Linked DNA regions of Homo sapiens: regions 1, 3, 4 and 5 are each linked to region 2. Evidence: promoter capture Hi-C in human tissues and cell types (Jung and others, 2019). All regions are on one chromosome and are shown on one strand. The core of a region is centred on a gene start or on the middle of the fragment in contact, and the rest is flanking DNA. Distances in the headings are between cores, read along the strand shown.

Region 1 (5,170 bases), core at 2,606-5,105, 320 kb before region 2:
TCATTCTCCCGAGCTCATCCCAGCCGGGCGGAAGGAGCGCCGCCCGCGCTCTCTGGGTCTGAACTGCCGGCCGACAGCTCCCTCTTGTGGAGAAAACGGTTTGAGGCCGCAAAGAGTGAGCGAGAGACGGAGGCAGAGATTCCAGGCGGCAAGGCGGGCCAGAGAAACGATCAGCACGGCCAACAGACGACCCACAAAATGGGAGAAAATATTCGCAAAGCGCGCATCCGACAAAGGTCGAAGATCCACAATCTATAAGGAACTTAAATAAACTAACAAGTAAAAAAATAACACCATTAAAAAGTGGGCGAAGGATGTGAACAGCTACTTTTCAAAAGAAGACACACCCGCGGTAAACAAGCATGTGAAAGAATGTTCATCGCTAATCATTAAAGAAATGCAAATTAAAACCACAATGAGATACCATCCCACACCAGCCAGAATGGCTATTATTAAAAAGTCAAAAAATAACAGAGGCTGTACACCAAACTGCCCCCAACACAGTTTACCTATGTAAAAACCTGCACATGGGCCCAGACCTAAAACCAAAGTTAAAAAAATAATAATAAGATAATATAAAAATACTCAAAAAAGAGAGAAAGTGAAGAGGACAAGGAAAAAGAGAAGGATGGAAGGAGAAGGAAAGTGAGGGGGAAAAGGAAAGGGAAAGGAGGAGGAGGATCTGTTTGACCCCGTGTAAGGGCCTGTCCTGACCCCATGTAAGGGTCTGTCCTGACCCCGTGTAAGGGCCTGCCCTGACCCTACGTAAGGCCGTGCATGGACCCTCTTTTCCAGCTGAATTCAGAATTCTGGCCTCTGTTTAAAGTTGCCATCCAGAAACTTTCAACTGTGCCAGTCTTGATTAATAGCCTTTCTAGAAGGCACTTTGGTGCTCAGCAGTCCTTAACCTCTGCCATTTCTTGCAGTCAAGTGTTAAGGTGGAGAACTTTCAACATCAAGAATGCATGGAATTAGGGAAGGGGAGTCCCACCCTTTCTTCTTGGGGAGGGTGTGGAGGAAGGCGTGAGAAGTGGAGTCTGGGGGCGAATGTGTGAGAGTTGTATCACCAGCTGCGGGTATCCTTCCTTCCTTCACCATCATCCAATGCCGCCCTGAGTCTCTGACCCTCCCCAGCCGTGCTGCCCACAGGGGATGTCCAGAGGGGCTGGGCCAGAGGCTGTACCCACCTTTCCCCTGCCTGCGCACCTGGGCTTGCAGGGTGACGTTGGCCTTGAGTGGGGGCTGCTCATCGTGGACCACCCAGCAAGCAAACTCACGCTCCTCCAGCGTGGCCTCTGCCTGCCACGTGTGCTCCAGAGAGTATGTCCCATCTGGATTTCTGGTGGCCTGAGGGGACGAGGGGACACCAGGGTCTGGATCATGCTCCTGTTCTCCATCCAGGTGAGTCGCAGGTGGGCGGGATAGAAGTGGAGGACGTGGCAGGTGAGATTCACTCTGTCTTGCACATGTACATGGGTCCCAGAGGTTTCAGTGGTGATCTTCAGGGTGGGGACAACTAGACAGAGGAATAGGAAGTAAGACCTGGTGAAATCAGCCCCTGCCTGTGGCCACCCATGCTTCCCTCTCCCAGGGAACAGCCTCAAGGTCTCTCGCCTTTTTTTAAAGAAATATTTTTTTCTTGTATGCGTAATGTAAAGCAAATAGGGCTAAATGTTAATATTCATTAAATATGGGTAAGGGTACCTGGGTGTCTGCTATATTCTGTATTTTTGAAATATTTCATATCAGAAAATATAATTTTAAGAATTAGTAAAAGGTGATGCCCATGACGACAGGGACTTTATTTTGCTCGTTGCTGCATCCCCAGCACTGAGCACAGGGTCTGGCATACAGTGGATATTCATTATTATTAAATGAATAATAAACATTTAAAAAAAAAACTGTAACAATGACATTAATAGAACAAAGATGTTTAGAAAGGGAGTCTGGGACCAGATAATAACAAGATCAAACATTCGTAAGTAAGTCACTGCATGCCAGGCACTGTTATGTGTGTTTTATAAGGAATAATTCATTTAATCTTCACAGGACAGCTATGAAGTAGGTCCTCATTTTTTTCCTGTTATATAAAGAAACTGGTATTAAATAGTCAAGTAACTCACAAGATCCCACAAGTTGTAAAGTGGCACAGCTAGGATTAAAACCCAGACAGCGAGCCCCTGGAACCTGCGCTTATAACCACAATACACATGATCAGAAATCCATGAGGAATTTCATTTCCCCATTTATGAAATGAGGCTTTGGGCAAAAACCCTGAAAGCTGGATGCTTCCAGGGTTAATGTCCACCCCACCTGACTGCCCATTCACCTCAGAGCACTTGGGAGAGATTCATGGTTGTTTTCAGGGGCTCTGCCAGGGCCCTGTGGGTGACTTCGCAGGTGATCTCAGATGAGACATCCTGTCGGGTCAGTGTCACCCATGCCTTGCTGGTGATGAAGTCATTGCCTCCATTGTCAGGCACCAGGCGCTGAGCTGAGGCTGGATGTTCATCACTGTCCTTCAACCACGTAACATTGAAGTCCCGGGAGAAGTCCTGGGAGTTGAAGGGGACAGCAGTACAGTTGAAAGGCACTGAGTCTCCAGGGCTTGTCCTGTGAGATGGACCAGTCAGAGAGATGAAGGGCTGTCCAGCTAAGGAAAGAGCAATTGTGATTGTACACTGAGAGTGGGACACACCCCACAGGCACCAGTGGCACCAGAGCTGTGTCAGGCCCTGGGGGCCTACTATATGCTGTGTCTGATTCTGTCTTCAGGCAGCATATCGGCATTTGATCATAAGAAAACAAGCAAATGCAAATGTGATTATGACTGATCCCAGTGCCATCAAGGAAACCCAAAGACTGCATAGATGGAGAATACAGGGAGGACTTATTCTAGAAGGGCAGCTGGGGAAGAATTACTTGAGGAGGTGACATCATTGAGCTGAAACTCAGGAATGAATAGGAGCCAGCAATGGGAAGGGACAGAGGAAGGACATTCCAGACAGCGGGGACAGCAGGAGAGAAGGACCTCAGGCAGGAAGGGCTTGGTGGGCTTGAGAAACTGAGAAGTCTGTAGGGGACCCTAGTGTCATGGCAAAGAGGTCCAGAGTGAGAAGAGCCTGGGGACCATGGTGATGATCTTGATTCTATTCTGAGAGTGATGGGAAACCAGCAGAGACTTTAACAGAGGGGCAAAGTGGTCTGATGTACATTTTTTAGAGGATAACTGGGGTTGTTGTGTGGAGAATGGGAAGGAGCGTGGCAGGAATGGAAGCAGGGAGACCAGTGGGGAAGCTGGTACAGACCTCCAGGCCAAGGTGATGGTAGCCTGGACTAGGGTGGTGAGAAAAGGAGGCTCGAGACACATTTGGAAGATACAGCCCACAGGACTCAGTGATGGGCGGGATGGGGGGTGAGGGACAGAATGAATTCTGGATCAACAATTCCCAGGTTTTCTCTAGAGCAGCTGTGTGGGTGGTAGCTCTACTTTTTGAGCTGGGAAGATCTGGAGAAGGACCAAGTTGGGATAGGAAGGGAATGGTGATGAATCAGGATTTCCATTGTGGATGTAAGTTTATAAGGACTTGAGTGTAAAGTCAAGAATCACCCCAACAGGGATGGTTGGCCCCCCTACTCGGGTGCCTCCCATCAACACTTCACTAGACCCCCGTTGTCTGCTTGCTTACCTGCAGTGACAGGGAGCTGTCTCCATGAGAAGCAGCTCCATTCACCCTCACACCCAGCTAGGACTATGACAAAATATTTCCTGCTTCTGGGATATAACCTGGGATCTGTCTCCCAGAATTTTCCCAGGAAAACTGCAGGATGAGACTCACCCCTCCTTCTAAGGACAGCCTTGCAGAGCTCTGGAGCAAGAAACTCCCCAAGTCTTCACAGCATTCCCTAAGCCCCTGCTCTGCACCAGGTCAAGAGCTGGGTGCTGAGACCACAGAGATGAGTCAGACAGGACCCCCACCCTTGAGAAGCATCTGGTCAGATGGGGGTGAAAGGCAAATAAACAACCAATGACAAGCAGGATGACAGGCAGAGGGCAGCGCAGGAGGCCATAGGAACTTGTCCTCTTAGCACACAGCTCTGGTACCTTCTGGACTGTGCTCTGCCCTCATCACCCACCCTGCACACAGCACCGTGTGGTTCAGAAAACATTTTCAGCCATGTGTGCTTCTTTTCTTCCACATCTCAGCTGTGGGAGGCTGGTATTATTGTCCTCACTTTCCAGAAAAGGAAACAGAGATTCAGAAAGGTCTCGTGACTTGCTCAAGGTCACACAGCCTATCAGTGACTAAAGAGGGAGGGTAAGAAGGCCTGTCTGACTTTGGGTCCAGGACTCTTCCATGCCTCCAATGCCGGAGGCTCCATCACTCTGGCGACTTCTCTCTCTCTCTTTTTTTTCTCTCTCTCTCTTTCTTTCTCTCGCTCTGTCTTTTCCACCCTTACACCCTCTCTGACCCAGAACAGGTAGCCACCCAGACTAGAGCTGACATCGGGAAAACTGGGAGGTGGGCTCCTCTTTTACCCCCTGACCTCCCCCGAGCCCCTCACCCTTAGGTCACTTCCTCTTCTGACCCCCAAGCTCCCACCAGCTCCCTTTGTCCGCAAGGTCTACATTGAAGAAAAGATGCAAAACAGCACCTGACTGGCAGGAAAACAGCTCAGTCACCTCCTCTGAGCCTCAGTCTTCCTTCAGAAAGACACAGTGGCTGGATTTGGTCATTCCTGGGGGTCTCCTTGCCTGCCCTGAGGGTCTCTCTGGGCAGGAATCAGGACTCACCTGTGAGTCCCAGCAGAAGGGTGGGCAGGAGGGAGCCCAGGGCCCGCCCAGGTGTGGTAGCCATGGTGAGAGACTCACAGTGCTCCTGGTCTGTTCCTGGTGGCAACCACTGGATAAGGCCCTGAAAGAGCCCAGGAGCCACTGACCAGCCTCTGACAGCCTGGAGCAGGCCTTATACTTCCCAGCTGCCTACCCCACCCCATTCTCTGCCATGCCTGGAACAGAGGCCTGAGCCACAGTGAGGGAAGTGGTCACTGTGGCCACGGCCTCCTTCCAAGCTGCAAACCTTCAGGCCTGAGGTGTCTAACCAGGGAGGCATCTGGAGCCTTTTAATGGGTTCCGACTGTCCCTGATTCCCCATGAGCAAAACCAGAA
Region 2 (5,034 bases), core at 1,704-4,203:
CTTTTGTACTTGTTCTTCTTTCTTCTTGGAATGACTTCCCATTCGGTTTCAGAGCTGGGTTCTTGACATTCAGGTTTCAATTCAAATGTCAAATGCCAAAGAGGCTATTATGGACTGAATTGTGTCCCTCCTCACTCCAAATTCATGTTGAAGTTATAATTCCCAGTACCTTAGAATGTGCCTATATTTGAAGATAAGGTCTTTAAAGAGGTAATTAAGATAAAATAAGGCTGTCGGAATGAAGGACAAAAACCATACTATCATTTCAATTGATGCTGAAAAAGCATTTGATAAAATTCAACATGGTTTCATGATAAAAACCCTAAAAAAAACTGGGAATAGAAGGAAAATACCCCCACATAATAAAAGCCATATATGACAAACCCACAGCTAGTACCATACTGAATGGGGAAAAACTGAAAGCCTTTAAGATCTGGAATACAACAAGGATGCCCACTTTCACCACTGTTATTCAACACAGTACTAGAAGTACTAGAAGTACTAGCTAGAGCAATCAGGCAAGAGAAAGAAATAAAGGGCATCCAAATAGGAAAGGAAAAAGTTAAATTATCCTTGTTTGCATATTATATCTTATATTTGGAAAAACCTAAAGACTCCACCAAAAAACTGTTAGAACTGATAAACAAATTCCGTACAGTTGCAGGATACAAAATCAACATACAAAAATCAGTAGCATTTCTATATGTTAACAGTGAACAATCTGAAAAAGAAATTTAAAAAGTAATCCCATTTACAATAGCCATAAATAAAAATACCTAGGAATTAATTTAAAGAAATGAAAGATCTCTATAATGAAAACTATAAAACACTGATTAAAGAAATTGAAGAGGACACACAAAAAATGGAAAGATATTTCATGTTCATGGATAGGAAGAATCAACATTGGTTAAAATGTCCATACTACCCAAAGCAATCTAAAGAGTCAATGCAATCCCTATCAAAATACCAATGACATTCTTCACAGAAATAGAAAAAAGGTTATGGTTAAAAAGACCTTCTGATCACCATTTTGCAACTGTAATAATTGTTTCAAGCAAGAATCACCATGAATTCTGAAACCAGTGGGTAAGAGTCTAAAGAAGAGGATATTTAAATAGTCTCAAAATATCTTCCCACAGAATACTTAATAGTTACAGAAGGAAAAATCGTAACTTTATGGTAGAGTGTAACTACTCCTACACCACCTCAACCAAATGATGGAAGTTAACACCACGAATACTGGGACAAACACAATGCCATGTGCCTCCTGATGAAAGGCCCTGAGGAGGCAACTTTTTTCAGCAGTAGTCCTGCCAAAAAATGCATACCCTCTCAGAATAGCAAGGGATGGGTTGGTGGGGGGTGGGGGAGGAGAGAAAAATGGATACTCTGAAACTAATAAGAAAACACAGATGAATAAAAATTTAGGGACATTCTACAATATAACTCGCCAGTATTCTTCAAAAATGTCAAGGTCATGAAAGACAAAGAAAGGCTGGATAACTAACTGCCCTTCCAGATTAAAAGAAACTAAAGAGGCATGACAACTCAGTGCAACGTCTGATCCTGAATTGGATCCTGGGGAATAGCTATAAAGGACATTATTGGGACCATTAGCAAAATTTAAATATGGATGGAGTGTATTAAATAAAACAATTGTATCATTGTTAAAATTCCTGATTTTTGACCACTGTACTGAGATTATGCCAGATAATGTCTTTTTTTTAAGGAAACACACACATATATTTAGGATAAAGGAGTTTGATGTTGGAAACTCTAAAATGATGTAGTAAAAAAGAATATATACATTATATATGTGTGTGTGTGAATATCTATATACCGTATACTGATTTCCTTTCTTTTGGGGTATATACCATATAGATATCCACACACAATATGTATTTGTGTGTATATATACACATACACGAGAGGATATGGATATGCAGCAAAATATAACAATTTGTTATTCTAGTGGAAAAGTATATGATCTTTACGATTCTTGAAATTTATGTGTAAATTTGAAATTTAATCACAAAAAAGTTAAGAGGTTTTCAGCGACCAAATACATTATAAGAAATGGCCTGTATCCAGTGAGCACTCTTTAGCTCATTCTTTTTCTCCATCACACTTACCACTGGCAAAAATTATCCTGTGCATTTATTTAATAATACTTAACATTGTGTGCAAGGCTGTCCTAAGTGCTTTACCTGTATAACCTCTGTGGATCTTCTTACAGGTAAGGAACAAATACACAAGAAGGTTGACTAACTTGCCCAAGGCCACCCATGTGGTTTGTCTCCTGCAGTGGCACAGAACCTCAACCAAGGCAGAAACTGCCTTGTCTATTGCTCTTTCCCCAGCGACTTGGAATGGTGCCTAGCACATTACGGGTGTTCAATAAACATCTGTAGATTCAGTTAACAAACACTGGGCACCCACTAGGCCTACACTGGAATACAAAATACAGAACAAAATATTCAAAAATCTGTGCCTAAATGGGAGCTTTGGGTACTAACAGCCCCACACCCAATTAGCCTCCATCTAGGTATTTCATTTGGGTCTATCATTCCTGGGAATTAAAGCCCATTCTATCCATTTTGCAGAGGATCATTAGATAAACGGATGCTCAGGGTGGGTCAATGATTTGCACAAGATCACTGGGCTGGTAGAAGGGAAGGTCGGGATTCCAACCCAGTCCCTGAGGTTCCCAGGACAGAGCTATGAATCAAACGACCAAGACAATCACCCAGTCAGTATTTATTAGGCGCCTACTGCGGACGGTTGGTCTTCACGCAGATCAGGCGAGAAGGGATAGTGATGCGCGGGCCGCTGCGGAGACCCGGAGCCCGCCGCGGATCACGGGAATTTCGCGCCTATTTTTTGTTGGCTGGGTGTTCTCGCCAGTGATTGGGTCCCGGCAAGGCGTGCCGGTGCGCTCGGCTGCGGCTGCTCCGTCGACCTTTGCAGGACCGGGCGGTGCAGGGCTCACTCGGCTGGCGTCCCGGGGGATGGGCCACCAGGAGTCTCCGCTGGCCCGGGCGCCGGCGGGAGGTGCAGCTTATGTAAAGAGGTTATGTAAAGGGCTCAGCTGGCGCGAACACGTGGAAAGCCACGGGAGCCTAGGAGCCCAGGCTTCCCCAGCGAGCGCCGCGGCAGCAGAAGGATCCGCTACACGCCGGGCTCGGGCCGCCACCTCCCGCGCTGCTCGGTCCCGGAGGCAGCCCGGGCCCGGAGCGGACCATCCCCAGGCAGGGGCTCCAGGGGGGAAACGGGCCGCCCGGAAGTGGAGGTGCGCGGGCCAGGTAAGGGCGCCGTTGGAGGACTGAAGGCCAGCGCCGAGGCTGGAGTTACTGCCACTGCCTCCGCGCTTGGGAAGGGAAATCGGGTCCTCGGCCAGTCGCACTCCGAGAAGCCGAACTTTTCAGCCAATCCCTTCTACCCGTCGCCCTCGGGGACTTGGGTCGGTCCGCTGGGCTCCGCTAGGGCTTAATTCAATGGACTGTTTACACCCGGGCGAACACAAGGCGGGGCGCGGGGAGGAGCGTCACAGAGGGGGCCAAGCAAAGAAAAATATTTCCGCCGGCCAAATCGCGTCTCTAAGCGGTTTTCAGAAGGCGTGAAGCTTGCTGGCTCTTCTTTTTCCTATCGCTACATGACAAGCTAACAGAGAGAGCGGAGAGTTTGTGCTTTTCTTTCCGGTTCCCCCTCTGAGCTGCTGCCCAGTGGTTCGGTCTTTCCCGCTTTCCCCTCCCCTCCCCCGTTCAATCAGCGGCGGTGGCTTCCGTCTTAAAGGGGCCGCGGCGGCCGGGGGAGGAGGAGGTGGGACGCCCCGCGGCCTACGCTCCTGGCCTCCCCGCCTTGGCCTGGCCGTTTAACCGATTCTTTCGCCCGCAGGTCACAATCCAAGGTCCGGCTCCTCCGCGTCCCAGGGCCGGACGGAGGGATGAGGCAGGGGGGGCCCGGGCAGCGCCGTTGCTGCTCCCCCCGCCGCCCGCAGCCATGGAAACGGGGAAGGACGGCGCCCGCAGAGGTACACAAAGCCCGGAGCGGAAAAGGCGAAGCCCAGTGCCGCGGGCGCCCAGCACGAAGCTGAGGCCGGCGGCGGCGGCCCGGGCCATGGATCCGGTGGCGGCCGAGGCCCCGGGCGAGGCCTTCCTGGCGCGGCGACGGCCTGAGGGCGGTGGCGGGTCCGCGCGGCCGCGTTACAGCCTGTTGGCGGAGATCGGGCGCGGCAGCTACGGCGTGGTTTATGAGGCAGTGGCCGGGCGCAGCGGGGCCCGGGTGGCGGTCAAGAAGATCCGCTGCGACGCCCCCGAGAACGTGGAGCTGGCGCTGGCTGAATTCTGGGCCCTCACCAGCCTCAAGCGGCGCCACCAGAACGTCGTGCAGTTTGAGGAGTGCGTCCTGCAGCGCAATGGGTTAGCCCAGCGCATGAGTCACGGCAACAAGAGCTCGCAGCTTTACCTGCGCCTGGTGGAGACCTCGCTGAAAGGTAGGAGCACCGCGGGCCTTTCCACCCACGCAGGGCCTGGACCCCCTGCTCTCCGGACGGCTTGGCCCACACTGTTCCTGGCCTTCCTAGGCCTCAGACCTGGTCCCTGTCACCCTGTGCCCTGACACACCCTCCTTTCCTGGGCCCAGGCATTCGGCCCTCTCTTCTCAGGTCCTAAGATCAGTCCCTGGGCCTAAAGTTGGCTGGTGTTTCCATAACAAGAGCTCGTTTAAGTGCTAACCATTAACTTAATAAGTGCTCAAGAATTGCGAGCTATGGTTATTAAACGTCTTCTATTTTTAAGATCGGTTGGGGGAGTGGAGGAGGGGTCGGGTTCAGTTAGTAGCAGAACTGCGGAGCCTCCTCACCCCCGAGGGCCTCTCTCTTTCCCTCCCAAAACAAACAAAAAGAAAAAACTTGACTGGACCCACCCACACCCTCTCCCTGTCTGGTTCCAAGTTTCCTGACACCCTCCAGCTCCAACCCCCAAACTCCTGTGGCTTCCTCGTCTGCCTTTTCCTCTGAGGCCCCCGGCCCTTCAT
Region 3 (4,876 bases), core at 1,079-3,578, 360 kb before region 2:
GTATCTAGTTCTGTAAGACAGAAAGTTCTATTTCTTTCTTTCCTCTTTCTTTCTCTGTCTTTCTCTTTCCTTCCCTTCTCTCTTTCCTTCTTTCTTTTTCCCTTCCTTCCTTTTCTTTCTCTTTCTTTCCCTCCCTCCCTCTTTCTCTTTTTCTTTCTGTCTTTTCTTCTTTCTTTTTCTTTCTTTCTTTCTCTCTTCCTTTCTTTCTTTCCTTCTTTCTCCTTCCTTCCTTCCTTCCCTCCTTTCTTCTTTTTCCCTCCCTCCCTCCCTTCCTTTCTTCCTGCTATATTCACCATGTGAAAAGATTCTGCAGCCTCCTCCGGGCTTTCTTCATTCTACCCGAAAAGGCAAATGACTTCACTTTCTAAAGTAGCATCAGCAACCGCTCTTTTGTGGCAGGAGGAACAGGAATTGAAGACCCAGCAGAAAGCAGAAGTCAACTGCTATAGACAGCCTTGACATAGCTTAAGCTAAAGGCTTTGAACGAGAATAAAACAAAATACATAAGCCCTCCAACATGTCAGAAGAAGATAGATTTTTAGAAAAAATAAGGTTGCCCTTTCCTTTCATCTGCTTAAGGAAAAAAAAAAAGAGAGCGGGTGGGGGCCGTGACTGGCTTCATCAAGCCAGTAAAAGACAATGAAGGTCCATAAAATACTCTATGGTATTACTTTACTTCAAAATAGTAGTTTTCCTCAGGCCACTGAAAAAATGGTAGCAACCTATAAATGTATACATTTGAAAAAAAAAGTTTAGGTCCAAGGTAATGACTAATCTCTGAGTCTGTGCCTATAAAGAGAAACAATGATTCCTCGACACATACACTCTCCCAAGACTAAACCAGGAAGAAGTTGAATCTCTGAATAGACCAATAACAGGAGCTGAAATTGTGGCAATAATCAATAGTTTACCAACCAAAAAGAGTCCAGGACCAGATGGATTCACAGCCGAATTCTACCAGAGGTACAAGGAGGAACTGGTACCATTCCTTCTAAAACTATTCCAATCAATAGAAAAAGAGGGAATCCTCCCTAACTCATTTTATGAGGCCAGCATCATTCTGATACCAAAGCCGGGCAGAGACACAACCAAAAAAGAGAATTTTAGACCAATATCCTTGATGAACATTGATGCAAAAATCCTCAATAAAATACTGGCAAACCAAATCCAGCAGCACATCAAAAAGCTTATCCACCATGATCAAGTGGGCTTCATCCCTGGGATGCAAGGCTGGTTCAATATACGCAAATCAATAAATGTAATCCAGCATATAAACAGAGCCAAAGACAAAAACCACATGATTATCTCAATAGATGCAGAAAAAGCCTTTGACAAAATTCAACAACCCTTCATGCTAAAAACTCTCAATAAATTAGGTATTGATGGGACGTATTTCAAAATAATAAGAGCTATCTATGACAAACCCACAGCCAATATCATACTGAATGGGCAAAAACTGGAAGCATTCCCTTTGAAAACTGGCACAAGACAGGGATGCCCTCTCTCACCGCTCCTATTCAACATAGTGTTGGAAGTTCTGGCCAGGGCAATCAGGCAGGAGAAGGAAATAAAGGGTATTCAATTAGGAAAAGAGGAAGTCAAATTGTCCCTGTTTGCAGACGACATGATTGTTTATCTAGAAAACCCCGTTGTCTCAGCCCAAAATCTCCTTAAGCTGATAAGCAACTTCAGCAAAGTCTCAGGATACAAAATCAATGTACAAAAATCACAAGCATTCTTATACACCAACAACAGACAAACAGAGAGCCAAATCATGAGTGAACTCCCATTCACAATTGCTTCAAAGAGAATAAAATACCTAGGAATCCAACTTACAAGGGATGTGAAGGACCTCTTCAAGGAGGACTACAAACCACTGCTCAAGGAAATAAAAGAGGATACAAACAAATGGAAGAACATTCCATGCTCATGGGTAGGAAGAATCAATATCGTGAAAATGGCCATATTGCCCAAGGTAATTTACAGATTCAATGCCATCCCCATCAAGCTACCAATGACTTTCTTCACAGAATTGGAAAAAACTACTTTAAAGTTCATATGGAACCAAAAAAGAGCCCGCATCGCCAAGTCAATCCTAAGCCAAAAGAACAAAGCTGGAGGCATCACACTACCTGACTTCAAACTATACTACAAGGCTACAGTAACCAAAACAGCATGGTACTGGTACCAAAACAGAGATATAGATCAATGGAACACAACAGAGCCCTCAGAAATAACGCCACATACCTACAACTATCCGATCTTTGACAAACCTGAGAAAAACAAGCAATGGGGAAAGGATTCCCTATTTAATAAATGGTGCTGTGAAAACTGGCTAGCCATATGTAGAAAGCTGAAACTGGATCCCTTCCTTGCACCTTATACAAAAATCAATTCAAGATGGATTAAAGATTTAAACGTTAGACCTAAAACCATAAAAACCCTAGAAGAAAACCTAGACATTACCATTCAGGACATAGGCGTGGGCAAGGACTTCATGTCCAAAACACCAAAAGCAATGGCAACAAAAGCCAAAATTGACAAATGGGATCTAATTAAACTAAAGAGCTTCAGCACAGCAAAAGAAACTACCATCAGAGTGAACAGGCAACCTACAACATGGGGGAAAATTTTCGCAACCTACTCATCTGACAAAGGGCTAATATCCAGAATCTACAATGAACTCAAACAAATTTACAAGAAAAAAACAAACAACCCCATCAAAAAGTGGGCGAAGGACATGAACAGACACTTCTCAAAAGAAGACATTTATGCAGCCAAAAAATACATGAAAAAATGCTCATCATCACTGGCCATCAGAGAAATGCAAATCAAAACCACTATGAGATATCATCTCACACCAGTTAGAATGGCAATCATTAAAAAGTCAGGAAACAACAGGTGCTGGAGAGGATGTGGAGAAATAGGAACACTTTTACACTGTTGGTGGGACTGTAAACTAGTTCAACCCTTGTGGAAGTCAGTGTGGCGATTCCTCAGGGATCTAGAACTAGAAATACCATTTGACCCAGCCATCCCATTACTGGGTATATACCCAAAGGACTATAAATCATGCTGCTATAAAGACACATGCACACGTATGTTTATTGCGGCATTATTCACAATAGCAAAGACTTGGAACCAACCCAAATGTCCAACAATGATAGACTGGATTAAGAAAATGTGGCACATATACACCATGGAATACTATGCAGCCATAAAAAATGATGAGTTCATGTCCTTTGTAGGGACATGGATGAAATTGGAAACCATCATTCTCAGTAAACTATCGCAAGAACAAAAAACCAAACACCGCATATTCTCACTCATAGGTGGGAATTGAACAGTGAGATCACATGGACACAGGAAGGGGAATATCACACTCTGGGGACTGTGGTGGGGTCGGGGGAGGGGGGAGGGATAGCATTGGGAGATATACCTAATGCTAGATGACGAGTTAGTGGGTGCAGCGCACCAGCATGGCACATGTATACATATGTAACTAACCTGCACAATGTGCACATGTACCCTAAAACTTAAAGTATAATAAAAAAATAAAAAATAAAAATAAATTAAAAAAAAAGAGAAACAATGATTATGACAAAAGAAGATGTTAGAGAAGGAAAATGGAAAAACTTGAGTAGAAATGTACACACAAGTGCTCCCCATTCTGGTCTCATGCTTCTAAACAGCCTTTTCCCTGAAAGCCTTCCAAACTAGTTCTGCTTGGGCAAGATGTATGTCTAAATTCTTTTGCTTTTATCAGTTGTCAAGAACATAATGTTGAGTTCAAAGGATAACCAAACCTTGAATCTGATTAGCTTTTATTCCATTCTCACTTGCAAAAATCATGAACTAAGCTTTATTTAGCCCTTCACTGGGATATCTGTAACGACATGGATCAGACTCCTTGAAGTGACTGCGATATGGCCAGACTTCATAGAAAACTGTGTTGGCTGATGGAGACTCTCAATATTTATAGGAAAGTCATGTGTAATGAGATGGGACTTCTACAGATTAATTGTCCCACCACTGGAGGAAGTGCAGCTGCCCTGGGTGCAGCCCTGCCTCTTTTTGCTCTGCTGCCTTAGGCCATTGGAGCTACCACTTCTAGTACAAGCCCTTCTGCTCTCCCAAGCCCTTGGCATAAGTGTCAAGATCTCTGAAGTGTTGTCTGAAAGTTCTCTTGCTTGGTTTCAGGTGCTTCCCCCTCACTCCTGACCCTGAGGATGGGAGGAAACTTGCTATAGCCCTTAACGACTCCTTCCAAAGATCTTTCCTTTCCCTGCTTCTCTGTACTTTTGTTTTTTTTTTGTAGCAACTTTATTCATAATAATCCCACACTGGAAATAACACAAATATTCATCAGCAAATACATAAACCAATTGTGGTATATTACAATGAAATCCTATTCAGCAATAAAAATAAAAAGCTACAGACATATGCAACAGCAAGTATCTCTAAACATGTTAAGGTAAAGAAACTAAACACAAGAGTATATACTATCTGATTTAATTCATATGAAATTCTAAATCAGGGAAGAAAACTAACCTTCCAGTAACAGAAGGTGGATCAGTGGTGACCTAGGGCTGGGGAGAATGACTGCAAAGGGAGAGGAAATTTATTCTGGTAAGAAAATGTTCTTTACTTTGATTGGGGGTGGTGGTTACATGGTTGTACACGGTCATCAAAGATCATTGAACTCTACAGTAAAAATGGCTACACTTAATTATAGTAAATTATACTTTCATTAAGTTGATCAGAAAGAAAAAACGTCCCAATGAGGCGATAGTCAAAAGTCACCACACCAGTGTCTGTCTTAATATTTGAATAGGCACTAAATTTCTAGGTTTCTATTTGTTTCATAGCACATGTC
Region 4 (4,993 bases), core at 1,907-4,406, 280 kb before region 2:
TTTGAAAAACCTTTCAGAGGCTGGTTCTGTAAACCCTGGAGACACAGTTTGTCTTCCTTTCCCTGGGGAAAGGCTCATCTGGGAGAGGTAGAGCTTAGAACTTCAAAGGAAGCCACAGGGGCAAAAATATCCCTCCTGCCTCTTGTCCCAACACCATTCTTGGTTTGACTTGGCCAAGAATGTTCCCTGGTCCACCTCTGAAAGTCTGCAGGGATGCTTCCAGCTGTTCCCACTAAACTCTGCTTCCTCTGACCCCTGCCAAGAACTGACCCTTAATTCCCAGACTGTAGCTTCATCTCTCACCGGGGCATCTACACCAGCCTCTTCACTGCTCCCACTCTAGACCTTACCTGCAATGCAGCCTTGTCGTTTTAAGCAAAAATCACAAGGTCTCTTTAGTTCTTAAAGCCCTCCATGGGTTCTCCCCACAGAATACAGCTCGAGCTGCTCATCCCAGCCCCCAGGCCCTGTGTGCTCTGATCCCCAGGCCTCCCTGGGCTCTGGCCACACCATCCTTCCAACAGGGCCTAGAACAAACCAGGTTCTTCTTCACCTCAAGGCCTTTGCTATTATGCTTTCCTGAATTGCTTTCCTGGCTTTTTCCTTCCTCTCTTTCAGTTCAAAAATCATACCTTCCCCAAGGCCTTTTCTGATCCCAATTATCCCTGGTACCTTCCTCCCTGCAGACATTCACACCAGCGATGTGTTCATTTCCCTGTAATGTGCAGTTAGATATTTGAATGCTTCTAATGTACCGTCGGTTGGAGGAGTGGCAGCTGCAAAATTGCAGACTAGGAAGCTCCAAGCTGTCATTCACCCCATGGAAGCACCAAGAAAACAACCAGAGACTGGTTTAGAACTAATATAGGAGCTCTGGAAAACAGTCAAAGGTTTACAGCACCCAGGTGAATACCTAATCAAGAAAAAGCCACCTTCAAACAGCAGAAAAAGTTTTGTGGCATTTTTACTCCCTTTTGCCCAACCCCCTCCCTGGCACAGCAGCCCATTTCCCTCCCTTGAGCCAGAGGGAGCAAGCCTACCTTACTGGCAACACTCTAACTGGTCTGAGGCCTGCCTGGAGGACAGCTCTCTGTTTTGTCTAACTAAAATCTCAGGTAGAGGGAAGCTGAGGGCACTGTTGGTGGAAGCTGCAGGGAGACTATAGACCCATAGATGACTGGGGCAAGAGATTATGAGTGGACACACACAATAGACCATCTGTGGCCCTAAGGAGAAGCTGGGTGCTGGGGTAAGATTCTTTGAAAAAGTAAGACATTCAAAAGCAGCTGTACATATGGAGGAATTGAGTAAGCCACATTTAGGAGCAGGCAAGATTCATTCTCAGAAAAGACCTGAGAAGACCTGAAGCTTTCACCTTGGTGAAGGATTGTGTAACACAGAGTCAGTTTGCAAAGCCTGGGAGAGGCAGCTGTTTTTTCAAATGTCCAGTTTTCAACAACAACAACAACAAAAACACAACAAAGAAGTAGAAAACATGGCTCATTCAAAGGAATAAAATAAATTGACAGGAACTATCCCTAAGGAAGCCCAGACATTGGACTTACTAGATAAAGACTTTGAAACAACTGTCTTAAAAATGCTCAAAGAGCTAAAGAAAACCACAGAAAAATAACTAAAGGAAATCAGAAGAATGATATATGAACCAAATTATAATATCAACAAAGAGATAGAAATTATAAAAGGGAACCAAATATAAATTATGGAACTGAAAAATACAATAACTGAAATGAAAAATTCACTAGAAGAGTTCAACAGCACATTTGAGAGAAAACAAATAACAAAATTGCAAAAGTTCCTAATTACCAGTAATTAGTTTAAATGTAAATGGATTAAACTCACCAATCAAAAGGCATAAATTGACAGGATGAATTTTTTTAAATATCCAACTATATGCTGTCTACAAAAGACTCATTTTAGATACAAATAGATTGAATGTGAAAACATGAAAAAATATATTTCATACAAATAGTAACCAAACGAGATCTGAGATGGCTATACGAATGCTATACATAATAGTCAAATATGTTTACAAGAGACAAAAAACATTATATACTGATAAAAGTGTCAATTCATCAAGCAGATATAACAATTACATACATATATGCACCAAATAGCAGAGTTCTAATGTATTATTCACCCTGCTCCCCAGACGTTATTCCATGAGAGCAAGAACTGGATCTGGCTTGCTTACTGCTTTGTTCTCATACCAGGCATTTATGACTAACACACATTTGCTCAATTTCCACTATCCCCACTAGGTGACCACAGCAAAAGTGGACAGATAGCGTCTGGCAAGCTTCAGGCAGGAGCTTGAACCTGACCATCTTCAGCTGTCCCAGCTGTCACCTCCAGAAATCTGAGATCCTTTCCTTGCCATCCATGGTCCAACCATGAAAATAGGAGTGAAGGTGTTTAGGAATTGTGATCAACTCTAGTCTCCCCAGCCAAGCACTTCAGGGCTTACGGCTGCATATCAGGGAATCCAGGGGACCAAGGGAGGCGGGTGAGTTCACCATTGGAGTTGTCCAGTCTGAATGGCCAGTGTTACCCATGAGGACCCTGAGGCTCAGAGAGGGCAGGGAACCAGCTGGAAGTCACACAACAAGCTAGTGGCAGAGCTGCTGACTGCCTACCACCTGCTGTTTCTCTAAGTTGCCTTGGCGACTGCCTCAGGGACTGCCCATAGCATGCAATCTCTCTAAGTTATCCCTTCCCCTCCATTTCCCCTTTCATTTCTCCTTTTCTTCGTGTTATTTTTTGTTCTCCATCCCTATACCACACCAGGCCTCTCACGGCCTTTCCTAGATTTCTGAGTTAGACCATCTCATTTGACCCCCACAATGACCTGTGAAAGAAGTGCCTTTTAAAGCCCCATTTTCCAGATTAGATAACTGAAACCCTGAGATAGAAAGAGGTCAGCCAGTGACGCCATGTGGGCCTAGAACTCTGCCCAGCCTCTTTACTCCAGGTTCCAAGGCCTTGTCTGCCCTCAAAAGTATCAAGAGATTTATTTAAGCAAAAAACATCATGCTCACTACAAGCTTCTTAAGAAAGCCTTCTTCCAATCACCAAGACCCCTGGCTGTCTTTCTCCTGTGGATTTTCCCTTTCATCTCAGGATGACCGCGAGATATGAATGTTACCCTCCAAGCTGTAGCATGCAGGAAGGCTGGGGCCCAGACCTCAAGCTGAAGGCATTAGGGTGGGTGTAGGGTGTGCCCAGTTCTAGACAATTTCAACCTCAACAAGCTCAGTGCATTTGCCACTTGATAAGTGCTGAGCTGAATGGTTTGCAGGTGTTACCTCAAATTCATGCCCATCATGCTTAATAAGGTCAAAACCCTTACTTCATTTTGCAATGGAGGACACAGTTTCAGAAGGGGAAGTGGGTTGCACAAGAGCACTGATGGTCATTAGCTGGTCTGCTGGGCCTTGCTCTTAACCCCCTCCTTGTCTTGGATCAGGGACCACAGGGTCTGTGGGTGGTGGTGCATGCAAAACATGAAGATGTACAGAAGGATCAGAGCTTGTGTAAATGTGTGGATTTTTCCAGGTTGCCTTGCCATCACTTGTTTTTTCTTCTAGAGAGTGAGGGGCAGGGAGAGTTCAGGTGGGAAGGCCCGGGATATTTTTGCTGAAACCATCTGTTCTAGGCCTACTTCTGAAATGCCCTGATCCACATAGGGGAGGGGGAAAACAGAGATGGTCGAGAGTCCAGCCAACGTCTAGGGGCAAAGATGAGGGGCTCAGAACTCAGCAATTCGGCCCATCAGTCAGGGATAGCAGCCTAAAACTGTGGTCAGCCATGGGGTCTGGAGAAGACTGGGTGGGATGGATGGGGAAATGTTTCTAGAAGGAAGAAGGAGACTCTGGTTCACCCCCAGTTTGCAGGATGGAGTCATTGTGCCTTTAGGGAAGAGTGAGCAGCTGGCTGGAGGTCTATACTCCTGCCTGCTTGGTCTGGAGTTTCTCTCACCCTGGTCACTTGATCCTCTTACTTTTCCTGTCAGTGAGGAAGCTGTTTACTCCCAGAAAGTCATTCATTCCCTGATAAGATCAATCTCATTGTTAAGCAGAATTTTCACTTCCTGCCCGGGAGTTGGCGTAGCGCGAATGTCCAGCATTCAGAGCCCCATAAACAGTCAGCATGAGAGAGGCCCTAGAGGCCAACACTGCCCAACAGCTCCTGATGTAAAAATGGGGAAACTGAGGTCCAGAGAGAGGAAGAGCAGGGAAAGGAGTCAGTGTCAGAGCTGAGCCCAAATCCAGGCCCTGCCACCGCTACTCCACCATTCCTAGGTCAGGTGGTGTTTTGCATGCCATCAAAGAACCCCACAATTTCATGCGCTCCCTTTTGATTTTAAGATTCAACATGCCATTCTAAGAAAACTTGCTAAGAAAACATTTCAACACAATATAATATTTTAATGTAACACTAATATACTATTATAACATTGCATTCAAATATAATGTTCTAACACAGATTAATATTCTAATTCAACATTTCAGCACAATTCTAACCAATATTCTAATCCTACACTCTGGAGCAACATACCATTCTAACACATAACATTACATCATGTCCTAATGCAATATTATAAGACATTGTACCACAACATTCCAATCTAGGCTGCTAACGCAATATGACATTTCTGTATTATTTGAATGCAATTCTAATACGACACTCTAAAATAACTAAGTTATTACTCTAATATTAAGAATTCTGAGATTTTAAGCCTCTGGAATGTCCACTGGACAAGGTGATGTCATGCCAGTTTGTGATTCATGACGCCAGAGCCCTTCCTAGTTCCAGCGGCCCCCAGGACCCAGGTCAGGTAGGTCCAGCTGTCTAGCTTTGTAGAGGGAGGGCAGGTCCTTCCCAAGGCACAGGGCAGGGACTCCTTGACCTCTGGTAGCTACCTGTCTCCTCCAAGCCACATGCTTTTGTGGGCTCTGGGTTGGGGTAAGGGAGA
Region 5 (5,110 bases), core at 340-2,839, 390 kb after region 2:
AAAATGATATTTTAATATATTGGATTAAATAATATATATAGTCTTAAAGTTGATTTCACCTGTAGTTATACTTGTAAAAATGTGGTTACTAGGAAATTTAAACTTACCTATGTGGCTCACATTATATTTCTACTAGACAGCACTGATCTAGAACAAGGAGTGGAAAATGACTACCCACAAGCTAAATCCAGTCCTCTGTTTTTGTATCACCTACAAGCTAAGAATGGTTTTTACATTTTTAAATGGCTAGAAAAAAGTAAAAAGAGTAGTAATATTTCATGATACATAAACATTATATTAAATTCAAATTTCAGTGTCTATAAAGAAAGTTTTATTGGAACATATCAATGCTCATCCGTTCACATACTGTTTATGGCTGCAACTCAATGGCAAGTTAAGGGTTGTTACAGAGGGCTTATCACCTGTAAAAACAGTTATTGTTTGGCCCTTTACAGAAAAAGTTGGCCAACCCCTGATCTAGAGTTATGTTGCAATTGATAACATTTATCAACCCAGATTTAAATATTTTTTTATTTTTTTTTATTTTTTCAGACTGAGTTTCACTCTGTCACCAGGCTGGAGTGCAACGGCACAATCTCGGCTCACTGCAACCTCTGACTCCCTGGTTCAAGTGATTCTCCTGCCTCAGGCTCCCAAGTAGCTGAGATTACAGGCACATGCCACCATGCTCAGCTAATTTTTGTATTTTTAGTAGAGATGGGATTTCACTATGTTGGCCAGGATGGTCTCGATCTCCTGACCTCGTTTAGGTTTGTAAACAAATGAAAAAGAAAAAAACATAGTTTATGAAACCCCCAAACCACAATAAACTTGACTCTTAATTTTAACTTATGTCACAGAGCTGCATCTCTCCCCCTTGCAAACCATGCCCCCAGCCTTGCTTGCCTCCTTGCAGCTTCATATACTGGGCAGGTACATCCCTTCATTAAGGTCTTCGTGTCAATAATTCCCTTCACCTGAAATGCTCTTACACTAGATACCTACAGTTCTAACCTCCTCACCACATTATGTCTTTAGACAAATATTACTTCTTCACTGATTTCAAATACCCAGTTTTAAACTTCAGCCAGCCACCCTATCACACCCAATACCCCTTTATCCTGCCTTATTTCATTATTTTTTACTATGTTGCACTTATCACCTTTTAACATACCATATTATAATATCCCTGTATATGAGGCTTTTTGTTTGTTGTCTGTCTCCTTACACTAGAAAGTAAGCCCCATGGAGGCAGGGATTACGATTTTGTTTACTAATGTGTTGTAAGTATCTAGAACATTTTTTTGTGGTACATATTAGGTGATCAGTAAATCTCTACTGAATTAATGAAGGAAAGGAAAGAACACAGCCTTACCCAATGAGAGAAGATTCCTGTAATTCTCCAGCATCACTTCTTTGTATAGATTCCTCTGCTCTGGACTCAGTCTCTTCCATTCTGCTTCTGTGAAGATCACAGTCACATCCCTGAATGTAACTGGTACCTACAAACAACCAGTAAATTAATGTATAGCAAGCCACCATCAATCTTCCCTGTGTGTGGAGCACAGCTGGTGACCCTGGAGAGCCTGGATATGCAAGTTGATGTAATTCGTCAGAATATATGGTTCTCCATATGAAGTTCTTCTGAGCACTACTGTCTGCCTGGCTTTCTGTTAAAACCTGTGAGGAGCATAACTGAGCACAGAACACATTCTAGGCCCTTGACATATATGATTTCACCGGAGAAATGATTTGTGAATTAATTTGTAAACCTCAGGCTGTGTTTAAGACAGTGACTTTGAGGATTCATAATGAAGGAATTCAGAGATGAAACAGCAGAGAATGGGCTGCAGAAGGAACAAAAGCATCATGGACTTGGGGCTTGTGCTGGGCAGTAGGGAGTGGTAAAGATTTAGAGGAGAGAATGGAAGAAAACTTGGATTACAGAGAAAAATGGGAGTGAACAGATGGGGTCTGGAATGAGCATTTTTTAAAAGCTCAGGTTACTAAATGGGATCTGTAAAATCCCTGTCTTTGCTATGTGCTTTGACAACTTTTTTCAAGAAAGCCTAATGCTTCACTCATCTACCCAGATGTTGACCGCCTTTTCCTTTCCCAAGAAAGAGAATATATGTCTATTCTCTGGAAAATGAGCCAGCACTTCAGGAAAAAAAAAAAATGTAACCCCAACTCACCACTATTTGGGCCTTTCCCTCCTTTTTCTGGGGGCAGTCAGTATCATTAGAAGGCAAGCCTAGGGAAAGAAAAAGAAGCTATGAGAAACCAGACCCCCCCACCCCCCACCCCCCACCATGACGCTCCCTGAGCAGCTCTTCTGAGCCTTAGGATGAAGGAAGTAGTCACTTAACTCAGAGGTGACCTCTGAAGCATTTTCAGGTGAACCTGGAGCCTTGGCTTCCTCTTCATCCCTCCGGCTCCCTCAACAATTCTCACCTTTCGCTTTATGATTTTGGGTCAATTTCTTCATAGTCTCTACATTTTCCCCATTCTTTGGAAGCAAAATCTCTTCCCAGTATTGATCTCCCAGTGCTGAAGGATAAGGCAACATCATGGCGCCAGAGTCAGCCCAGTGTGTGCCTTGAAATTCTGCCAGAGGTCCAGGTAGATGTTATTTCATCTCAAGATGGAGTTCTGCTGCCTGTGGTGACTTCTTCCAACCTTAATTATAAAAAGCCCAGCTTGTTTCCCTGCAGCCAGGACCTGTGGGATGAAGAAGCAATTTGCTATTGCTGGGGCTTTTATTGTGGGCCCTAGGCCTATGCCTCTTCAACAGGGATCCTGTCCTCTCACACCCTCCTCATTCAACAAACACGGAGTCTCCATCTACATGGGATCCCTGGATTTTCTACCTTCATTCACTCTACCTTCATTTCTAGGCCCTCCTGCTTGTGTTCTGCCACTCTCCCTTAGCTCTCAAACTTTACTTCTTCTGCCTCTGCACCTCAGATTCAAACTCTATGTTTTGGATCAGTCTCTGCTACTACCTGAAGCCTGAGTCAGAGAGAAGACAGAATATAGCATAATGCCTGTGGAGAAAGAGCCTCTGACTGTTTCCTGTAGACCAACTGGGGCGTGCAGAACTCAGCTTCTGATTCCCCTGCCCCAACCCAAGGTTCCATCTATATTCAGTTCCTTGTGTCTTGGATGGGCACAGTGGTTCACACCTGTAATCTCAGTACTTTGGGAGGCCACGGCAAGCTAATCACTTAAGCTCAGGAGCTCAAGACCAGTCTGGGCAACATAGCGAAATGCCGTCTCTACAAAAAATACAAAAATCAGCTGGGCATGGTGGTGTGCGCCTGTAGTCCCAGCTACTCAGCAGGCTGAGGTGGGAGGATCACCTGACCTCGGGAAGTCGAGGCTGCAGTGAGCTGAGATCATGCCATTGCACTCTAGCCTGGACGGCAGGAGTAAGACCCTGTCTCAAGAAAAAAAAAAAAAATCCCTATGTCCCTGTATTGTGAGGAGTTTAGGAGATCAAAACTCAGTCCTTCTTAGTTAAGGGAGAGCTCCAGTTCTCACAATTACTCTGAAGAGATAACCTCCTAGCTTCCATTGCTATGCATGTCTACCACATGACCTTACCACAGATGTGCATTTGTGTATCCTGATGGGCCCAAGTCAAAGTCCTACACTGATGTGGTCCCAAAGAAGGCAGGTGGTATTAGGAGCTATGCCACCTTCAAAAGCTCCTCAGACGCTGTCCAGGATTTCAGCCCAAATGGCTACAGGCCTATTGTTGCCTAGTACCCTTCTGAGACTAGCTGGGGTCTCTAAGCAGCTCTTGTAATTCATCCCTCAACACCATAGGTAGAGATGACCACTCCCTCTTCTGTCCAACCTGGCCATCATACCATATTGCAATTTCTCTATTTACGTGACTGTCTTTACTAAACTGTGAAGCTTCTTGTAAGATGAAATGCTTCTCAGTCTTTTTGCTAATATAATTCTAGTGATTAGAATAAAAGAGGCCTTTGTGGTAGATTTTATCATCGTTCCCAATTATTTGTTGCCCTATAAAAGGATGGTACTTCCCTGTCCCAGACATCAGGCTTGACCTTGTAACTTGCCTTGGAAAATGAATGTGAGTGAAAGCGACGATGCCATTTCTAAGCATTGCATAATTCCACCATTTCTTTTGTTCTGAGAACAGCATGTCCGAAGAGGGACTGTGGTTCTACTGTAAAAAGTCATGGTACAAAGCTAAAGCCAACCTATAGTACCTGCAGTATAACGTAGCTGAAGCTGACAAAGCCTTTCTCCTAGTAACACTAGTATCTGTAGCTAACAGTTATAAAGCAAGATCTGTACTAAGTGCAGACTTTTTTTTTTCTTTTTTCTTTTTTTTTTTTTTGAGACAGAGTCTCACCCTGTTGCCCAGGCTGGAGTGCAGTGGTGCAATCTTGGCTCACCGCAACCTCTGCCTCCCAGGTTCAAGTGATTCTTTTGCCTCAGCCTCCCAAGTACCTGGGATTACAGGCACCTGCCACCACATCCAGCTAATTGTTTGAATTTTTAGTAGAGATGGGGTTTCACCATGTTGGCCAGGCTGGTCTCGAACTCCTGACTTTGTGATCCGTCTGCCTCGGCCTCCCAACGCGCTGGGATTACAGGCGTGAGCCACCATGCCCGGCTACTAAATGCAGTATTCCAACATTTGGGACACTGCCACAAATGCAACAGAAAAAATACCAGCACTCGTGTAGCTGCCATTTTAGTGGGGTTTAGGGGCAAGGAGATGGACAAAAAAAATATATACCTCAGAAAAGACACAAGATATCAGACGGAGATAAGTACTGAGGGCACCAGAAGGATCCAGTGGCAGAGACTGAAGGAGTTGCAATTTTAAATCGAGTATTTAAGGAAAGCCTTTTAAAGGTGATTACTTGAGATTTGAACAATGTGAGGGAGTGATTCATGTGGGCAACTGTGTCAGTAGAACTATAAGGAAAGAAACCAGCCCATTGAAGGTCCTAGGGCAGGAGTGAGCCCTGCTATTTCAGAAATAACAAGTTCACTGTGGCAGGAGGGTGTAAGTGAAACACAGTGGTGGCAGTTAAGAGCAGTCAACGACAGCGGTACCAGGGCA

What was found. Contacts are between HindIII fragments. The study calls those that stand out against the background at their distance.
Region 1: a fragment that was not itself captured here is called in contact with the fragment with the promoter of STK35 in region 2 in 1 of the 25 tissues and cell types used here (spleen).
Region 3: a fragment that was not itself captured here is called in contact with the fragment with the promoter of STK35 in region 2 in 1 of the 25 tissues and cell types used here (lymphoblastoid cells).
Region 4: a fragment that was not itself captured here is called in contact with the fragment with the promoter of STK35 in region 2 in 1 of the 25 tissues and cell types used here (dorsolateral prefrontal cortex).
Region 5: a contact is called between a fragment that was not itself captured here and the fragment with the promoter of STK35 in region 2, in 1 of the 25 tissues and cell types used here (aorta).

What each region holds. Positions count from the first base shown.
Region 1 is chr20:1,777,333-1,782,502 of GRCh38, forward strand. It overlaps the pseudogene LOC100289473. Among named protein-coding and RNA genes, the nearest start is that of SIRPA, 120 kb to the right of the region's middle. The HindIII fragment of the contact is 3,631 bases long and covers 2,041-5,170 here.
Region 2 is chr20:2,098,874-2,103,907 of GRCh38, forward strand. It overlaps STK35 (serine/threonine kinase 35), which reads left to right and starts at 2,954. Exons shown (of 4, transcript NM_080836.4): 1 at 2,954-3,302; 2 at 3,895-4,492. The coding sequence starts at 3,009. RefSeq lists silencers at 2,840-3,029, 3,130-3,419, 3,430-3,479, 3,770-4,299, 4,320-4,369 and an enhancer at 3,715-4,683. The HindIII fragment of the contact is 6,364 bases long and covers 1-5,034 here.
Region 3 is chr20:1,741,473-1,746,348 of GRCh38, forward strand. It overlaps LOC124904858 (a long non-coding RNA gene), which reads right to left and starts at 854. Exons shown (of 3, transcript XR_007067498.1): 1 at 294-854; 2 at 1-10. The HindIII fragment of the contact is 4,864 bases long and covers 1-4,760 here.
Region 4 is chr20:1,820,990-1,825,982 of GRCh38, forward strand. No RefSeq gene overlaps it. Among named protein-coding and RNA genes, the nearest start is that of SIRPA, 72 kb to the right of the region's middle. The HindIII fragment of the contact is 6,431 bases long and covers 1-4,993 here.
Region 5 is chr20:2,491,324-2,496,433 of GRCh38, forward strand. It overlaps ZNF343 (zinc finger protein 343), which reads right to left. Exons shown (of 6, transcript NM_024325.6): 3 at 2,455-2,721; 4 at 2,196-2,254; 5 at 1,376-1,502. The coding sequence starts at 2,572. Among named protein-coding and RNA genes, the nearest start is that of ZNF343, 15 kb to the right of the region's middle. The HindIII fragment of the contact is 5,941 bases long and covers 1-4,560 here.